Regions from separate parts of the Homo sapiens genome. Here region 2 is linked to region 1. The links are contacts of gene promoters, found by promoter capture Hi-C in blood cells and fetal thymus (Javierre and others, 2016). All regions are on one chromosome and are shown on one strand. Each heading gives the region's core, a stretch centred on a gene start or on the middle of the fragment in contact. The rest is flanking DNA. Distances are from core to core; before and after follow the strand shown. Region 1 holds the start of GNAQ (G protein subunit alpha q). Region 2 overlaps GNAQ (G protein subunit alpha q).

The links. The method cuts DNA at HindIII sites, captures the fragments that hold promoters and counts their contacts. A CHiCAGO score of 5 or more calls a contact.
Region 2: a fragment that was not itself captured here is called in contact with the fragment with the promoter of GNAQ in region 1 in 11 of 17 cell types (megakaryocytes, erythroblasts, naive CD4 T cells and 8 more); the score reaches 10.5 in megakaryocytes.

What each region holds. Positions count from the first base shown.
Region 1 is chr9:78,029,895-78,034,322 of GRCh38, reverse strand. GNAQ (G protein subunit alpha q) reads left to right here and starts at 2,512. Exons shown (of 7, transcript NM_002072.5): 1 at 2,512-3,223. The coding sequence starts at 3,088. RefSeq lists an enhancer at 2,429-3,323. The HindIII fragment of the contact is 11,535 bases long and covers 566-4,428 here.
Region 2 is chr9:77,898,564-77,903,330 of GRCh38, reverse strand. The region is part of intron 2 of GNAQ (G protein subunit alpha q); the gene reads left to right. LOC107987081 (a long non-coding RNA gene) reads left to right here. Exons shown (of 2, transcript XR_001746758.3): 2 at 1-4,767. Among named protein-coding and RNA genes, the nearest start is that of GNAQ, 130 kb to the left of the region's middle. The HindIII fragment of the contact is 441 bases long and covers 2,988-3,428 here.

The DNA.
Region 1 (4,428 bases), core at 1,263-3,762:
TAGGCAATGAATAAATGCTTGTTGACTGAATGAACTGGGATTTTGTAACATAATCCCTGTTTAGTTGCATGTTTTAGAGTATGTGCTTGTAGAACATGGTCAACTATCAGTTGTTTCTGCATGGGTTCTATTTGTTTGACTTAGTCTCTAGGAATATTTGCTTGGCAAACGCTCTCCAGATAATATGAAAAGGTTTTTGGATAGATCTGGGCTCAGACTTGGAATTTCTTTTCCTGTTTCCTTCTTGACACCCATATATGGCTTTATCACTGTAGAGTGTTGGTTTTTCTTACTTCCTGGTTTCTCCCCAATACTTGAAACATTCTCCTATTGATTCATTGCATCCATTTAAGTATCTAAGTTGCCAGGGAGTGTTCATGATGTTGGGGGGATACAGGGGGGACAAAACAGACTCTGACTCTATAGCCCGCTGAAACAGATGAATTCATCAAATAATAGGACAATTCAGTCAAAACATATTACCTGATAGCCTGATGGCTCATTTTAAAAGACATTTTTAAAAGTCTCAGAGGATCCCTGGGTAGGTAACCAGAGACTTCAAGCTTTCTGTCATTTGGTTTTCCAGTGTTCTGTGTCTCTCCAAAGCTCATATACATACATATATTCGGAGGATGCAAACTTAAAATTTTTTCTTCTGAAGCCACTTTCTATTTTTGCATACTGAATTTCAATCTTTAATTTCTTTAGTCACTTGATTTTAAATTTTAATTTCATAGCAAGTCTAGCTGTTCTCTGTAGGCATTCACATAAAAGGGTTGAGGTTTGCCCTCTCTGCTCTCCAGGGCAAGGTGAAATTTAATTATTTTCTAGGTTTTAAACAGAGAACCTAAAATATATATTTTATATCTTGACTTGCTTGATTTAAATCGTGGTTTAGAGTGTGTGTATGTGTGTGAAACGGTGGAGTAATGGCAAATGAAAGAAAGAAGGAAGTTACACACCTGTTGTCTAAGAACCCTATATGAGTTCTTGATCTGTAGCAAAAGCAGAGTCATGACCGTACCTTACACTCTGGATCAGCAGGTTGCACCAGGGACACTTCAGAGAACACATGAAACGTGAAAAAGCGGTTCTCTTCATAAAAGACAATTTTCTTTGAAGACCTCAGGTTCCTTTAAGGCAGGAAGCAATATGAGTTTCATCTCCTGGGCCTGATTAAACAAGATTATTTTCGTGTGCTATTTATCAGTAGACGATCACAATGAAATGTGCATACGACAGTTTACTGCCTCAATCACATATTGCAAATCAAAAAAACTAGAATGCCGTTTTGCTGGGGCCTCCTTAGTTTCTCTTCTATTTCATTCTTTCCTTTCCTTTTATTCCACATTATTTTACATTTTCCCATAAGTCATCCATAATTCAATCTCAGTCTAGAAGAGTAAATTCGATTACTCGGCGGCTAAACATCGTGTGCCTTCTCAGAAACAAGAGAACTTGTAAAACAAAAACAAAAACAACTTAAAAAAACAAAAACAACCAACAACCACCAAAAAAACAAAGGCATGAAAAGTTGGAACCTATCGGGAGGCTCTTGGAAACTTGGGCAGCTTCCTTTCTCTGTTCAGGATTTAGATTTCTATCTCACGTTACTTTGCGAACAGCTTCGCCTGTGAATCTCCCCCTACACCTCTGGGCACCGGTGCCAATTCCTTCCCTTCCCTTCCCCAGTAGCCCCACACAGTATAGAGGAGCTTATTTTCTAAGACTGCACCGGTGTCAGAGGTGACGTGAGAGTTTCTAACCGAATGGCGTTTTAGAAATAGGAACGGGAAACACAGAAACGGCTGAGGAGCGACCCCGTGGAGCAGACAGGCACAGCCCGGGAGCGGCGGACGCCAGCGCCGGCGCCGCAGGGAGCGCGTGCGGGGCTCCGCGGGGCCGCCTCCCGCGACTTCAGCAGGGGCCGCGGCCGCGCTCCCGGGCCGGTGGGCTGAGGCAGGCAGAGGCCGCCATATTCCTGTCTCACCACGCCCGGCCGGACGGCAGCCGCAGGTCGGCTGCGGCCCTGGCACGCAACGGCGGCCGCCGGCTCGGGCTGCGCGTCGGCGGCCGGGTCTGGCCCCGACTTCGGCCGGGGGCGGCCGTGACTGCTGCGCCCGCGGACTCTGCCGAGGGTGCGGGAGCAGTAGGCGTCCGCAGAGCCCGCGGGGGCCGGCCCAGCCCGGGAGCCGCGCGGGCGAGGCGAGAGCCGCACTGGGAGGCGCGCCGCGGCGGCCGCGAGCCCAGGAAAGCCTTCCAGGAGGGGCCGGGCGGCACCGCCTCCCGGCTCCCTCCTCCCGCGCCCATCCCCTCCGCCTCTTCCTCCTCCTCCTTTCGCCGCCGCCTCCTCCCTCCCGGATCTGTGCTCCAGTTCAGAGAAAGAAGAAAATGTGTGTGTGTGGCGAGGGGGAGGGCTCGCACTGAGCAGCCGCTCCGCGCCTGGCAATCGGGGCAGGGGGTGGGCGTCTGGCGGGGGCGGGGGCGGAGGCGGAGGCGGAGGAGCGCGCGGTTGCCGGGCGGGACGGGAACCGGGTCTGCGCGCGAGCCGGGCGGTGGGCGCGGACAGGGCCGAGGGCGCCCGGGAGCCGTGTCAGGCGGCGGCGAGGAGCGGGCGCGCCGGGCGCGGGGAGCCGTCGGCGGCCGCTCGCTGCGGGGACACCCCGGTGAATGAGCTCTCGCCGCCAGGCGCACGGCGTAGGGGAGCCTCGCAGGCGGCGGCGGCGGCGGCGGCTCGGGGGGCGAGGCGGGCCGCCTGTTCCCGGGGAAGGAGGCGCGGGCGTCTGAGCGAGGCCGGGCGCGGCGGCCTTCTCTCACGCGCCCCCCGAGCCAGCGCCCGCCTCCCGCGCCCGCCTCTCTTCTCCCGTCGGCCCAGACTATCCGCTCCCACCGCGCCCCCGGCCCACCTGGTGGCCCCGGCCCTGGCCGCCGCCCCCGCGGCGGTTCCCGGAGCTCGTCCCGGACGCGCGCCCGGGCGGCGGGGGCTCGGCGGCCACCGCTGCCTCGGGGGAGCGAGGGCGGGAGGGTGTGTGTGCGCGCTGTGAGCAGGGGGTGCCGGCGGGGCTGCAGCGGAGGCACTTTGGAAGAATGACTCTGGAGTCCATCATGGCGTGCTGCCTGAGCGAGGAGGCCAAGGAAGCCCGGCGGATCAACGACGAGATCGAGCGGCAGCTCCGCAGGGACAAGCGGGACGCCCGCCGGGAGCTCAAGCTGCTGCTGCTCGGTGAGTACCGTCCGGGGCCCCGCCGGGCCTCTGCGCCCCCAGCCCACCATCCTTGGCCCTGCGGGGCAGCTGCCTTCGGCGCCCCCGCCCCCCGGCGCCCGCGGTTCGCCCCTACCCTCCCGGGCGCGCCCCCGGCCACTGCCTTCACCCGCGCGGGCGCGCGGGCGCGTTACACACAGACACACACACACACACACACACACACACACACAGCGACACACACACGCAGCACAGGGGTCGGGGCTGCCCTGCCCGGTGCCTTGGCTTGTTCCTTTTCGTGTCCCTGAGGGCTGTACCTTATCTGCTGTGCATCTGCTAAATGGCAGATCACTCCGACCAGAGGCGCGGGGGTGGAAAGGTGGGCAGAGGGGTTGAACTTCCAGTGTCGTGGCCGCGGCACCCCATGGGGTGGTGGCGTGGGGAGCCGTGTGTGTGGCCCAGCGGGTGGCGAGCGGAGCCGGGGCACGTTGGGGGATGGCCTGCGGTGGAGTGGCCGGTGTGCATCCATTATCAGTGCCCTATGGGGTCAGGAGGGAATGGGGGAACGGTGGGCAGACTCGCAGCTGGATTCCCGGAGCACTCATGGTGAGGAAGCCAAGTGGTTGGCCCTCCAAGGAAAGGGTCTGTGTACTGGGGGCGAGGCGGGAGGGCAAGCCCAAATGTGTCACACAAGTGCTGTTCTCTAGCCACCAGACCATCGAAAGGAGGGAGCCTAGAAGAGTTGGCCAGTGGATGGTGACAGGCGTTATTCTCGTCTGCACCATTCCTTCTAGATAAAGATGAGGGTAGGGGAGCGTTGTGCTGTGTGGTTGTTGACAGCGACCGGTATCTTTTGTTTAATGAGGCAACCTAGATGTAGGCCTCAGTTCACAATAGTTACTACCGAAAACCAGTGCAGTCTCTCAGTTACTCTCTTGGCAACAAATAGAAACCTTTTGTTTAAAACAGATAGCATTTTAATGTCTTTGGAATCTGGGCGAGAAGGAAAAACGGGAAGCATACAGGAAAAATTTCCCTCTAGTCTTGAAAAAAAAATTCTGCTTCAACACTAAGTTAGCAAGAAAATGCCATTTCTCAAATAGAAATTTATTGATGATTATCTCTGGGAGGATGTTCAGAATCAAGCGATCAGGGTTCATATACAAGCCACAGTGACAGAACCCTGAGCTACTGTGGCAGGAAGAGCAAACAGCTTTGCAGTAACG
Region 2 (4,767 bases), core at 1,959-4,458, 130 kb after region 1:
TAGCGTCCAACACCCATGCTGCCTTCTCTAGGGAATAGCTTCCATCAGGCAGCTGGGCATTCAGGTCCATCCTTGCAGCCTGAGTCTGTGACCAAGTCCACTTATGGAGTGGGATCTGGGGCTCCTCAAACTTTAATCTTGTTTATCTAGTCTGCTTCTCCTCCACAAGTACAGATCCTGCCATTCTGGGCTGACCTCTTCTAACGACCTGTGTTGCTCATGAGCTCTTCCCACCCCTGCCCTGATTAGCTGAGATACCAGGCACTTCTTCCAGGCTTTGCTCACCTCTTCATCTAACAGACCATTGACACCTGCTTGGAGATTGATGACAGCTACAAATTTTACTTACTCCTAAGATTATAAGTTCCCTGTGATACTAAGGCCTGGCCCAAATTGCAAAATTGTTAAAGCAGAAACTCCAGCTTGCATGTTGAAGGAATACGTGAAGTAAAAGAAAGCTGTGAAATAGGCTAACTCAGTTACCATAGCTTATGGTTAAGAAAGCTGCACTGGCTGATTGGGAAGCAGTTGCACACTCTCTAGGACCATTAAGGTCAAACTTGGGTGAAATTTTGCAGCCTCCATTCAAATTTATCCTGTTTTGTACAAAAACAAATTGGCGTTCATTTTTCTAACTTGGGTTAGGTTTTGTAAACCCTGTTCTGAAGACTAAGACCAGAACTCATTATCAATAACAGTTTGTGGATTCCTGATTTTATGAAAACCATCTTGATCTTTCTTCCTTTATTATTTTTAGCATTCTTGTTTTCCTTTTTAGTATTTTAAAACTAAATATTTTAGCTGATATTCCATGTCAAACCAAGTATCTCATCTTGTAATGTCATAATCTGTTAAGACATTCCTCTCAACTTTGTAAGCAAGGCTTTTATTATGTAAGTCAGCAACAAAGGTGGGATTTTAGATTAAGGAGGATGCTAGTGCTAATTGCCAAAGTAATCATACTGAAAAGCATTCTTGTTGAAACTCAGACATATACCACAAGTAAGAGAAAATGATATTCTTCATCAGATGAAATATTTGGAAATTAATTATTATGATAACAAGTGAAAAGCAAACAAAATACTCCTTACAAATATATTTTTACAAATTTATAACTTGTTTAAGGTGTAAGAACATTCTGAAAGTTTCATTTTGCATCAGCCAGTGAGTTTTAATGTAATGCTAAGAGGTGGAGGCATTAGTAACCCTATTTATGATAAATATAAATTCAGAAGAGTTAGGTAACTTGTTATGGTGTGAATGTGTGTCCCATCAAAATTTGTATGTTGAGATCCTAACCCCTAAGGTGATGGTATTGGGAGGCGGGGCCTTTGGGAGGTGATTCAGTCATGAAGGTGGAGCCCTCATGAAGGGGATTAGTCCTCCTATAAAATAGGCCGAAGGAAGCTAGTTCCCTTCTACTCAGTGAGGACACAGCAAGAAGCTGCCATCAATTAATTAAGAAACTGGCTCTCAGCAGACACTGAGTGTGCCTGTGCCTTGATCATGAACTTCCTAGCCTCCAGGACTGTGAGAAATAAATGTTTGTTGTTTATAAGCCACCCAGTTTATGGAATTTTTAAATAGCAACCCAGAAGGACTGAGACTGTAACTAGACTGAAACTGTAAAAGTATAGGATGGTAGCGTTCAAACCAGGATTTCTAGGGTAGCTGTGTGAGGAATGCAGAGGAGAGTAAGGTTCTCTGCCCCCAAGGTATGTGCCATTTTGTGAGGGCACAGACACTTATAAGACATTGAGGGAGCCTAAGAGAAAGAGTAGCTCCAGCTCGGCCTAAGGAGGAAGAGGCAGGACGGCTCTGCCAGGTGATGGTATCTGTACTGCTCTTGAAGATGGGAGGGTTTGGACAGATGAATGAGAGTGGGAGCAGAGTGAAGGCAGAGAGTAAGAAAGTACAGGAACAGTCCCAGGAAAGTTGAGTAATTTAGGGACTAAATACACAGATGGGCCAGGTTTTGTGGTGAGAGATAAGGCTGTAAAGGTGTAGGGGAATTGTATTGTAAAGAGCCTCCAATTCCACATCCTGGAGATTGATTCTAACCACTGTGGAGGCTGCCCAAGAGCCCTTGGGCAGGAAACAGATGTGATAGGAGTTTGTGTTTTTGGAATACAGGTGGCATGAGAGTGTGACAGTGTGGTACTACTATCGGGTACTACACAGGTGGTGTGAGAGTGTGGTACTTTCTGGAAGCAAGATCGTGACCAGGAGTGAGGAGCCGGAGTGAAAGGATGGACATGGAAGAGAAATGGCAGCTTGAGGATTCAAGCAAGTATTTTTATTTTGGTTTGCTTGTTTGGTTCTTTAACTTCAGGAGAGAACCGAGTGTGTTTGTTGGTCAGTGGAAATTTGCTGGTAAAGAGGGAAACTATTTGACAGTATACAAGCAATATAAAATACAAAGAAATGGAGAAGCAGGACACTCATTGCTTTGAAACTGTTGGGAGCAAGCAGAGAATTGGTGAAGTTTAAGGTTTTGAGAAGAAGGCGGCTTTTAACAGACAGTGCTAGTCAATTTTGTCTGAACTGGTACGGTCTTCTGCCAAGAAAGAAGGGTAAGTAAGTGGAGAATGGGAGTAAGGATTGTGGGAAAACATGAAGGAAAAAAACTGCATGGAGAAGCCAGGTGTGGTAGCACACACCTGTAATCCCAATACTTTGGGAAGCTGAGGCAGGAGGATAGTTTGATCCTAGAAATTGGAGTCCAGCCTGGGCAACATAGCGAGGCCCCATCTCCACTGCATGGAGTGTAGATAATTAGGAATTAGTGAACGGGAGTGAACCTGAGATGAATAAAAGAATTGTCTGTGCACCCAGTATCTAACCACAAGTAGATATTATCAGCCTGCCTTACTGGTAGTGAGATTCCGTATAGTTATCCCACAGTTTTCCATGAAAATGGAGAACATTGATAACATGAATAATTAAAATCTCCAGATGAGCTCTAAATCTCATTTTAGCAATAAGCTTCTATTGCAGTAAAATATCTTAGTGTCTCCTGATGGAGTGACAGAAGGATCTTTTTTGACTGTGTTATTCGTACATGTGTTTCTGTTAGAATGTGGAATACCTCTGGCCTCCACATTCTAAATTTCCTACTTATTGAAACTTAGACGTATACCACAAGTATGAGACATATACCACAAGTATGAGAACAGCTCAGCAGTCTTAGATATCTCAAAGACTCCAGGATTACTGATTGACTTAGTAACTGTGTCAGGCCAAGGAGACCTGATTGAGTCAAGAAATAGCTTTGAGTACTCTGTTAACTTGGTGAACAGGTGGACTCTGGAAGGGCTGAGTACATCCCAGAGTGGACAGGTTGGCAGCAGGTAACAAAATTTAAAGGGCATATTGTCTTTCCTGTAGCAATTCCACCCTGCAGAATTTGCTCTGCTAGAATGCAAGCTTTTGAGGCGGCAGGGATCATGTCTTTGTTCTTGCTGAATCAGCAGCACCTAGCACAGTTCCGTGCATTTGATATGTGCTTAATACATATTTGTTAAATATGTGATTGAAACACTCATAAAAGTGCAGAGACGCCATTCTCTGCCCAAGTTCTCTGAGGTCCAGTCAGATGGTCTTTTGCCTCTGACCTCTGCTGTCTTTCGCCTCTGACCTCTGCTGTCTTTCCTCCTGCACTGCCTTTGCACGTGCCACCCACCTCTTCATTCTTCCAGATTATTTTATGAGATGCTTTCATATGATTATATTCCTTTTTTTTCCTAGTCATGTAGTCCATTTTTTGATTTTTTTTTTTGTTAATGTGATTCTTTGAATAATGCCTGTGTCTCTCATTAAGTGTGGGATAGTATCCACTCACTCTTATATCCCTAGAACAGTGCCTGGTAAAAAGCAGAGTACACACACACACAGACACACACACAGACAAACACATGCACACATTAGTGAATGAGACCGGACACAGTAGCTCATGCCTGTAGTCCCAGCACTTTGGGAGGCTGAGGCAGGTGGATCGCTTGTGACCAGGAGTTTGAGACCAACCTTGCCAAGATGGTGAAACCCCATCTCTACTAAAAATAAAAAAATTGGCTGGGTGTGGTGGTGCATGCCTGTAATCCTAGCTACTCGGGAGGCTGAGGCAGGAGAATAGCTTGAACCTGGGAGGTGGAGGCTGCAGTGAGCCCATATTGCACTACAACACTCCAGCCTGGGCGACAGAACAAGACCTTGTCTCAAAACAAAACAAAACAAAAAAACGGGTGAGTGAGATTTGGTTGGTACAGCATTGTTTATAATAGTGAAAATTTGGAAACAAGCCAAATATCTATCAATAAGGAAGTAAATTATAGTACAGCTACTCTTTGGAATTCTTTTCAGCTGAAATAAACATTGAAGTAGAACTATATGTCCTGATCTAGAAAGTAATGCATGATATATTATGTCTTTTATAAAGCAAGTTGCAAACTATCAGGTATAATGTAATCCTGTTTTAATAACAATATATGCAAGAAAGAAACAACCTCAAAATGTATATGTTGTAAAAAATACTAGATGGATATAATAAATTCTTAATAGCAGTTTATTTCTGAGTTGTAGAATCAAGGATCAATTTTTATTTTGTTTCCCATTTGTTTGAAAAAACTCACTTTTTCCTGCTATAAATTGTATTCTCTACTCTTTTCACTTGTTCTTCCATCTGTCCATCCATCCATCCATCCATCCATCCATTTATTCATTCATTCATCAATCCATCCATTAAATCCAGATATTTAAGGAGCACCCATA